Linked DNA regions of Homo sapiens: region 2 is linked to region 1. Evidence: promoter capture Hi-C in 16 types of primary human blood cells and fetal thymus (Javierre and others, 2016). All regions are on one chromosome and are shown on one strand. Each heading gives the region's core, a stretch centred on a gene start or on the middle of the fragment in contact. The rest is flanking DNA. Distances are from core to core; before and after follow the strand shown. Region 1 holds the start of QTMAN (queuosine-tRNA mannosyltransferase). Region 2 has its middle 870 kb from the start of LINC01966.

Region 1 (4,599 bases), core at 914-3,413:
CCATGTAGGTTTGTGTGAGTACATTCTATGATGCTCCCACAAGTACACATTTCTCAGAACATACCTGTCATTAAATGACACATGACTAAACCACGGTTTATATACACCATAACTCTAAGACTCTTAAAATACCAATCTGCTGGAAGTGACGTAGGCTATCCGAATCAAAAATATGAATCGATTCTTGAAGCGCAAGATAATTGCTAATTCAAAAACACTGGAAAGTAATGTTTAAACTCACAGAATGTAAATACTTCCTAACTATGTACAATTCATGGCATTTTAATCTAATGGGTCCAAATCATAAATTAAGGAAAAAAATTTCATTTAATTACTTGGCTTTTTAAGATACCATAATCAAACAAACTTTAGTACCATAATCAAACAAACTTTAGTACAAGAGGTCTGAATTACCTAGTTAAGTGTTTAGTTAATGAAGACTACTAGTTCTATTCAGCTCCTGCTAAATCTCATCAAGAAACTGTCTTCGATTCTTAATTTCTCTATAAAATAATGGGATTGGATTATACTGTTAATGTTCCTTAAACATCGAAAATTCTGTATTTCTGTGATGCATAAGATTAAAATGCCAACACAATTTTCAAATCAAGACTAAAGAAGCCATCTTAACCTTTGCAAACTGGTGATGTTAAAAAATTTACTATTTCCTACCTTATTGCAAGTATCATGCTTCAGATTTTACCTATTCATTGTTTTCAAGCATGTCAAAGAAAGTTTCGTGATTCAAGAGGTACTCCTCTAATCCTCAATACTAAAACTGTTTCATTAAATACAGTACAGGACCCTAAGGAAAATGTATACCAAAAGGGAGTGGGAGCCGAGAAGAATCTAATCCAAGTCAGACCTGGAACGCACTAATTAAAATTCAATATTTCACTTGGTATGTGGGTTCCTACATGAAACTCCTGTCATGGTTAAAGCTTAAGGTTAAACACGTTAATAGAAGCCAATAGAATGGCTCTATTGAATTGTACTGAACTTCTTTTTCAGCAGCTCCTTTACCTAACCACTATTTTAAGCTTTAAAATCAACTTCAGGGGTAGGCACCAAATAACCAAGTGAGCCACGGCAGCCGGGGCTGCAAACTGAAATCCATCTCGTATGGAAAATCATCATCAACTCACGTTTTCCATTTCAAACTGCGATACAGGTGGAAGAAAAGCTGTAAAAGCCTTCTCTTTGAAACTCCCATCACACGGCCTCAAGGCATTAACTTAAGAATCTCAAGATAACCTAAAGCAGCACAGTTGTCAGAAGACTCTAAAAGTTGTATGTGCGAGAGAAGGCAAAAAAACTACTTCGGGACTAAAGGTTAAATTTCGCTGCTGCATTCCCAAGACTTAAATTCAGAGAATCTTTCCACCTGGACAGAATGGGATTGTCTGGATCCCGATGAAAATGGGAAGTTATGTGCTTAATCCTCAGACGAGGGATTCCGGGGTGGGGGGCACAGTGAGGGTCTTCACACTCGGCTGGCAGAGAGGAGTGGGGCGCTGGGGAGGTCTGGTAACTGAGGGCGACTAGGAGCCAGAAGCGAAGCTTTCCGTCAGGAAGGCCTGGGGCTCGCACTGCAAGGGGCCAAGCGCCGGGCAGCCTGGTGGTCGGCGAAGCACCCCAGCCAACTCAGGCCAACCCGGACGCCCGGCCTCCCTTCTCCCGCGCGAGGGCGACGTGCCCCCACCCGTCCTCTCAGCCTGCGCGAGGAAGAAGCGGAGCGCCGGGCCGCAGAAAACCAGCACGCACGACATGTAGGCACCAAAAAAACGCAATTCGAACACGACCAGTTTGCAGAAGGCACAAAATGCCACGGCGTGACGCCCCATTCCGAGCGCGGTGCGGACGGCGGCGCAGGGAGCGCAGCGCGTGCGCCCGGGAAGCGCGCGGCTCTCAGCTCCGCCTCCCCCACACCCCCCGCCCCCGGCTCCCCGCGCCGCAGCCGCCGCTGCTGCCCCTCTGGGATCTCCGCGCAGCGCGGCCCCGCGAGGCGGGCGCCGGGGAGGGGAGGGGAGGGGCCGCGCTCCCCGCCTCCCCGCTGGCCCGCGCGGCTCCCCAGCCCGGAGCCTACTCACCTCCTCCTCCTCCTCCTCCTTGTCTCTCCCTCCTGGCCACCGGCGCGGCCCAGCCGGCGACGCGCTGACGCCGTGCCCCTCCCCCGCGGCCGCCGCGGATGCCGCCGCCCCTCCCGGCCCGCGGCCGCCTCGGCCTCCGGGCGCGTCAGGCGCTGGTCCCGCCCCTCGGCCCGCCCGCGCAATCGAGGCTCCGCCTCTCTGCGCCGCCCGGACTCCGCTGGCGCGAGGTCCCTGAGTCAGCGGCGCTCCCGCCCGCGCGAATCGCTCCGCCCCAGCCCGCGGGCTCGGCTCCTCGCACCTGCCCACTGTCCCCCGGCCTCGCACTGCTCCCCACCTCCCTGTGCGCCCTTTCCCATCTCGTCAGCACCCTGTCCGCCCTTTCAGCTTTTTCGTACTCTTTCCCCAACCTCCTAGTCCTGTTCTAAGCTCGCATAGTCACCTTCTCTTTCCTTCTGGAAGGTCTGTGCTGTTCATTAGGTCGACCTCGGATTCCCCGTGCAGTTTTCCAGCCGGCCCGTTGCATCTCCTTTCCTGGTCCACTCCCCGGCCTACTAGAGCCTCAGGGCCCCTGTGCGGGTTCCTGGCTCCCTTGCCGACACCTCTACCTGCTCTGCAGCCCGGAGCTCCTCCACAGCTGCTTTGCCAATGCCTCTTAATATCCCTCCTTCTGGACCTCCTCGATTCCCTCCTGGCAAGGCTCATGCTTTCCTTTATCTCCATTTTTCCCGTCCTTTCGGTTCTGACTACTCCACACACTTCTGATGCAGTTTGAGTATTCAATAATTGCATATTCGCGGTCCCATTTACACGAGGAGAGTCACATTGAGTAATTAAAAATCACAAAGCAAAGCGACAGCAGTGGAGACCATCATTTGACTTGCATAGTTCCATCTATATTTTCCTTATGCAATAATATTCTCATTGCCACTTGAATTTCAAGGAATGGGATTTTCTGTTGGGGCTTAAAATTCACAAATGTTGGATGTTTTTTCGCTGCGACCTAATTTCACTTTAGCTCTTTTATTTATAGAATACATAGTAGAAAGAGTACCAGGAAGTCCCAGGTGTTCTTGACTGTAAAGTGAGGAATGTGTCCCTTCGTTAAATTCCTTTATGAAGTAAAGGATCCTTTCTAAAGTAAAGGTTTTTGTATCTGGAAGGAGGTTGTAGGTTAAATGACTCTGGTGAAGGCAAAACATGCAAATATAACTGGATGTCTGGTTTATTAAGTAACTTCATTTTTAAAACTGCAACTCGGAAGAGTTAGGCTGTGATGTGGAAATGAATTAGGAAACATACCAAAATAAAGGAAATCGATTAGGTCTTTGTACTTATATCCACAAGTTGCTTTAAGTTATGTGAGTAAACATTCTTATCCTTAAATTGAAGCGTCGAAACTATCTTCCGTTCCAAACAAAATCCAGCTCTGTGTGGACATTCAAAGTTTAAAACCATTGTTGAATTGAACAACAGCATTGTAAGCATTTGAAAGCCTAATAAACCATCTGTCCATCCACTTTCACACAAATTGAGAAACAGAAAAGAGTAAATGCCAAAACCTGAAAGTGAGTGTTCTGACTACACATGAAACTAGTAAATCCTATTACACAGAATAAAATACAAAATGCTTCTCCACTTACGATGGGGTTACTTCCCAATAAACACAATGTAGGTTAAAAATATTGTAAGCCAAAATTGCATTTAATGCTAGCAACACAGCAGATGGTCCTCGACTTCCAATATTTTCAACTTTAGGATGGTATGAAATGTATGTGCATTCAGTAGAAACCATAACCCCATCATAAGTCATAAGAAGCTGCTCAACTTACCATGGGGTTACATCCAGATAAACCCATTGTAAAATGGAAAAATTCTAAATCGAACCACAATATCTGAAAAATCCTAAAGTTTATGGCTGCCATTTCATTGTTTTAAAAATAGAATTACATAATTTTATAATTAAACTGGTTCTTAAAATAATTGGGAGTCTAATCCTTTCATTTTAAAATGAAAAAAATTTTTAAATCTTTTTTAATCTGATTAAGAACTGAAGCCCAGAGAGGGTAAGTTGTTTACCCAATATTACCCAGCTTAATTGGAAACAAAGCCAGGGTTCAAACTCAGACTTTCTGTCTCACATACCTGCCAGCATCTGGCTCATGTTAATATTTAACACTTATATAAAGCTATTCAACATCAAAATTCCTTGACTTTGCAGCTTTGCCTACATGGTCTGAGTGATGTATAAAATTGCACTTGGCATTAGCTAGGAAGGTATTTCTGTCGAAGCTGTTTTGTCCCACTGGTTTCAAGGATTCCTGTTGCACAACTTTCATCTCAGTCAGGGTTCATCTGCATGATCCAGGCAATTCTGGCCAGACCTCCGGAGCCATGAACCAACCAAATGCATTCATCCTCGGTGGTGACAAGGTCTTTGCCTAATTGTAAGAATTATTAAGACCCTATTGCCAAGAAAATTACAGCATCACCGGGAAGGTAAAATATGAAA
Region 2 (4,791 bases), core at 190-2,689, 1.4 Mb after region 1:
TAAGTTACATAAAATGTCCTACTGCTTTTAGCTGTATCTGTTGCAACTTTGAGCAACTCAGTTTCTTCATTGGATAATATGAGGGCAGTGGATGAGGTCCACAGTGTCTCCCAGGGATATCGTTGTACAGTTCTATTTCCTCCAGGGCACATGTGAAATAAGTGAGGGATCTTTATGTAGACACAGCTTATCAGTCCCAAAACAGTGTCCCTCCTGTAGATCACACATTTTCTGATAATAACCTGAGGGGAAGAGGGGCAAGGTTGCCTGTTTCCTGACATCCTGCTTTGCATACCCAAGACACCTACTTTATTAAAAAGTTAACTTTGCTCCAAAAAAATTTTTCCCTAAGTTTTTCAAGATTGATTGTTTCCTGTTATTGTTGGAGGTTTGCTTTCTATGGTCATTTGGTAAATAAATAGCTTTATAGGGGAAAACAAATGGCCTTGTTTTGTTTTTCTACTCCAGGGTTTATGTGTTAAATTTCAGCTATGTCGTGTACTCACAGCTTAGTGCTTCAGACGGTTATGGGGAACTAGGAATTCTTAAAGGGGTAGGACAGGATGTCCTTTTCTATCGCTCAATGAGTCATGGAGGATGAATGCCGTTTCAGGGGTTCTGTAGTTGTGATTTCAGTCAAGTTCCAGTGGCTTTCAACCACTTCTCTAAATCTGAATGAAGAAGCAGCCACAGGGACTGTGTGAATTATGCTAAGATGCATTCCCGTTAAGTGCTGAAGTGGCCTTTGCAGTGAATCCTTAAACTTTACAATGCCAGCAACAGCCTATCCAGAGACAGGGCAGAACCCCGACATATACCCTCTTCCATGCCCACATAAGACATTTGCATTTATCTCCATTCTTATTGCATTGAGCATCTCTGTCTCCTGGTCAGCAACCTCTGTGTCTTTGGAAAGTCAGGCCTCACTCAGAGCATGCTCCCTTCTCAGGCATTGTGACAAGATTGTGTTTCGGTTCCAAAGGGTTAATCCCAAAGTGAATTCTTTGCATGTGTAATTCAATACTTCATAACTGCTGAAAATTGGAGTCCACATAATTTATTTTCTTTGGTCGGGCACATTTGCCTCATGCTTGGCCGGGGCTGACTTCAGAGAGACACACCTAAAACTCTCAAGTGTCCCAAGTGGCCCATGTCAGTTGTACAGAGAGATTGTGGTACTTGGACAGAGCCCAAGGATTAGGTGTTCCTGAGAAGGTTTTTTTGGCTCTACAAAGCCTTAGGATGTCATGGGAATAGGCTGCACTCCCTTTTCCCCCTTGAAGGCCACATATCAACGGGGTATCTAACCACTCAGAGACAGGCTCTACACAAAGGTATACATTAAAATAAATAGAACATGCAAGCAGAAAGAACTGAAAGAGAGGGAGGAATTGCTAAGTGGAGACAGGAAACAATTGCTTCATTGTTGAGGCAGTGATCTTAGAATTGCAGAGTACAGCCCCATCTACAGGACAGTTTGTAAAGTTGGAGCTTTTGGCTTAAAACACGAGACAGAACTTTACATGCAGTTTTTAATCCAGCTCACTTTGCATGGGCTTCACCTCACTGACAAAAATCCCACATTTTTACTTAAAAATAATTGTCCCTCTTTGATGAGAGGGATTCAGAGAGTGACAGAGAGATAAGAAGTGAGGAAGAACGCGGCTTAAGGGTGCTTTCATTTAGCTCCTTTTCTTATTTTGGCAGTAAATATTCTTGTCCTCGCAATACTCATTTAATCTCTTTCTTTGCTTTCCAACAACTTCCTCTCATTTGGTTTCCTCTCATTATTCCTTGATTTGGGAGGGGGCTTGTGTATTTTCACCATTCAAACAAAATAAAAAAGCTGTGCTTGTTTGAACACCATTTTTGTGCTGGCTGGCAAGCATGTGACTTTAAAGAAGGTTCAGGTTTTTAGGTTGAAAGGAGCTGAAAAACTTTAAAGTAATAATTAAAGCCAACTCTCTACGTGCACATTCCCTCCCCTCCCTTTATTTTAAAAACCTTGCCTGCCAACGCAGTGGCTGCTGTCTTAATGCTATTTCAACAGGAGACCTGGGTTTCAGGACAAGATCCAGGCCATAGGGGAGACTTGATGGCTCGGGGAATTAGTAATGGGATTTGGAGCCCTTCATTTCTAGGTCACTGGTTTGAATAGAGCCCAGGTCAGTAATGACTGAAAGTTGTTACCACCCGATGCCTGCTCTTCCTTAGCTGATCTGAGCTTGCCTGCCACTCCATCCCTGAGTGCCTGTGGCCCGTCTGCACTAATGGCATTCATTGACAAGTTGGCTAACTTAGGCCTTAAATGTGAGGCAGCCCAGTTTCTGCCATGTGCAAACACGGGGTCCACACTCTGCTGCAGCTGCTCTTCAGGGAATAATGCAGAGAGAGACAGAGTTACAAAGCTATTTTGCCTTTCTGATTACTCTGGGACCTAGCAAATCTATCTCCACTCACCTTAAGTCTCTGAGGCATTATATCTTCAGCCATTTAAAGGTAAGATCCAGGGAGAAGAAGGAACAGGCCTCAGAGGACCAAGTTTTCAAATACTCCAAATGTATGTATTCTGAGAAGACCGATTTAAAAGATCTGAATTAGGAGCTGCTGCTGCTGTTTCTAGTACCAGATAATCATGGCCCTTTTAAAATACCGCTTGCTGGACCCCAAACCTGTGCTTACAAAGTGTAGAAAGAAGGCAGATGTTTCCAGAACTTATATTAGGAAAGTGTTTGAAAAAATAATTACTGCTTTCTTTTTGTTTGTTTGTTTGTTTACAAGAGGAGAAATGCTTGCTGTAAAAGGATGGAGATAGAGAAGGAAGGACTGTGGAAACTCAAGAACAATGCACTACATTGGCAGTTCCTGCAACCTGCTACAGCCGGAGGCCAGTCTCTATGTGCAGAGACAAACTTGCTCTGGAGCTGTGGTTAAAGAGGGGGAGGAGCTGGAGTGGGGACTAGGTGCCTCCGGAAAGGATCTGAGGCCTTTCACACAGCTACCTGTCAGTCCCTGGGCCCGGGGCTGCAACCTACACATGCTTCACTCTGTCTCTCCAACCAACACCCCTTCCCTAGAGGCAGGTGAAGCCCCTTCCCAATAAAGAATTACATTATGTATCATCAATTAAGAAATACAATTATATAAAGACCCATTTGTATCAGTCTTATATTTAGATTTCCTTTTCAGACAAGGGGGTTTTTAACAGCATTGATTTTCAGTAATAAACCAATTACAGGTTCTTACCACATTGCTAAGATACTGGATGAAAAGTTTTAACTATAGAGTTCGGTTAAAGTGGGTAATGGAAAACACAGCACTATGTTTCCATTTGTTTCTGATTTACTACTTCCAGCTCTACATTTATTCCTCTTAGATTTCCTGGATTTTTGTTTACTTGGTTTTTGTTTTCATTTCATTTCCAAGACTATTTGTCTGCTTTTTACCTTTGCATTCTCTTGTTTTGTTTAGGAAGCACAGTCGTCTACATTTTTGCTGGAAATATGGAAAAGCACTATGGCTAATGGAATGACTTGATGCCAATGATCTACCCTTCCGCTAAGCCATCAGGCTCTGCTCCTCACTCTGACAGCAGTGGACTCAGCCCATGGCACCACCCCCACTTCCAGCATCACCTGCAGGGCCTGGGCCAGTGGTTCTTTGTGTGCCATCCATTTTCTGCCTTTTCTTAGATGAATCCAACTAGTAATTGATTTTGTTATTCAGAGAATCCTAGAATCCTAGTGTTGGATGGAGGCTTACAGATCAGCCTCTTCACAAATTTCTCCTAGCATGGAGATCTGAGTATTGCTTGAACATGTTTTGAAGAAGCACTCTCTCCTCTTCTAGGCTTTCTATTCCATGTTTGTTTATTGTCTCACACCAGTCAGGAAATGGGGCTACAGCGGTAAACAAAATTGCCTCTGCAGAGCTTGGAATTGAGTACAGAAGAAGAATCACCCCGTAATTGCAAAGATGTTGAAAGTTCATCAGCATTGTTCACTACCGTCTTTCCTAGGTTGAATCTGAATCAAACCCACATGTCATGAACACCCACTCATGTCTTCATCTGCCTGCTGAAATTCCAGGTGGTATTCTTCTTCTATATGATGGCTTCTGGACACAGTAAATGAGTTCTTGCCCATTTCAGGGGTTTTATTTCTTTAACTCCCACAGCCCTGAGACCTTGACAGGAGTTGACTGCTCCATAAATGCCTGGCTCTATCAGGAATGTCAGCTTTGGTCATTGTAGCTGGACTTTGGACCTAGCTGAAGTTGCAGAGACTACTGGCACCCAAACTAGCCCTTTAATATGTTGAAGAATAGATGAGACACACTTTGCAAGATTTCAAATGAGAAAAAAATAATGTGAAATACCTGCCACTATGACTGACTTCATATGAAAAACTGTAGTGAGGGACATGAGAACTAAAAGTTTTAAACTTTATGATGGAATAGTTTTACATAATACTTTTGTTAACACTACGAAGGTACAAAAAACTACACCAAAACTCATAAACGTGATTACAAATGGGGAAAAGAGGGGCCATAGGTAGAAAAAAAATATGTTGTAATGTGCAAATGTTATATTACTTTTATTTTGTACCATTGACTGCATTAACGATTCACAATTCCATGAATTTAAAAAATTGTGTTATCACCATCTAAAATTGGTTTAAAAAAAGTAAAAATAGGAAAAATAACAAGAGAAAAAGATTTTTTTTCAGTCTTGAATTTTGAGAGTCATGAAAATATCTGCCAGAGTTTAGCAGAATTTTTAAGCTTTGATTC

What was found. The method cuts DNA at HindIII sites, captures the fragments that hold promoters and counts their contacts. A CHiCAGO score of 5 or more calls a contact.
Region 2: a fragment that was not itself captured here is called in contact with the fragment with the promoter of QTMAN in region 1 in 1 of 17 cell types (M0 macrophages); the score reaches 5.2 in M0 macrophages.

What each region holds. Positions count from the first base shown.
Region 1 is chr2:144,330,349-144,334,947 of GRCh38, forward strand. It overlaps QTMAN (queuosine-tRNA mannosyltransferase), which reads right to left and starts at 2,164. Exons shown (of 12, transcript NM_001376312.2): 1 at 2,091-2,164. RefSeq lists a silencer at 1,839-2,438 and an enhancer at 2,220-2,797. The HindIII fragment of the contact is 4,019 bases long and covers 1,559-4,599 here.
Region 2 is chr2:145,751,207-145,755,997 of GRCh38, forward strand. No RefSeq gene overlaps it. Among named protein-coding and RNA genes, the nearest start is that of LINC01966, 870 kb to the left of the region's middle. RefSeq lists an enhancer at 829-878. The HindIII fragment of the contact is 6,682 bases long and covers 1-4,780 here.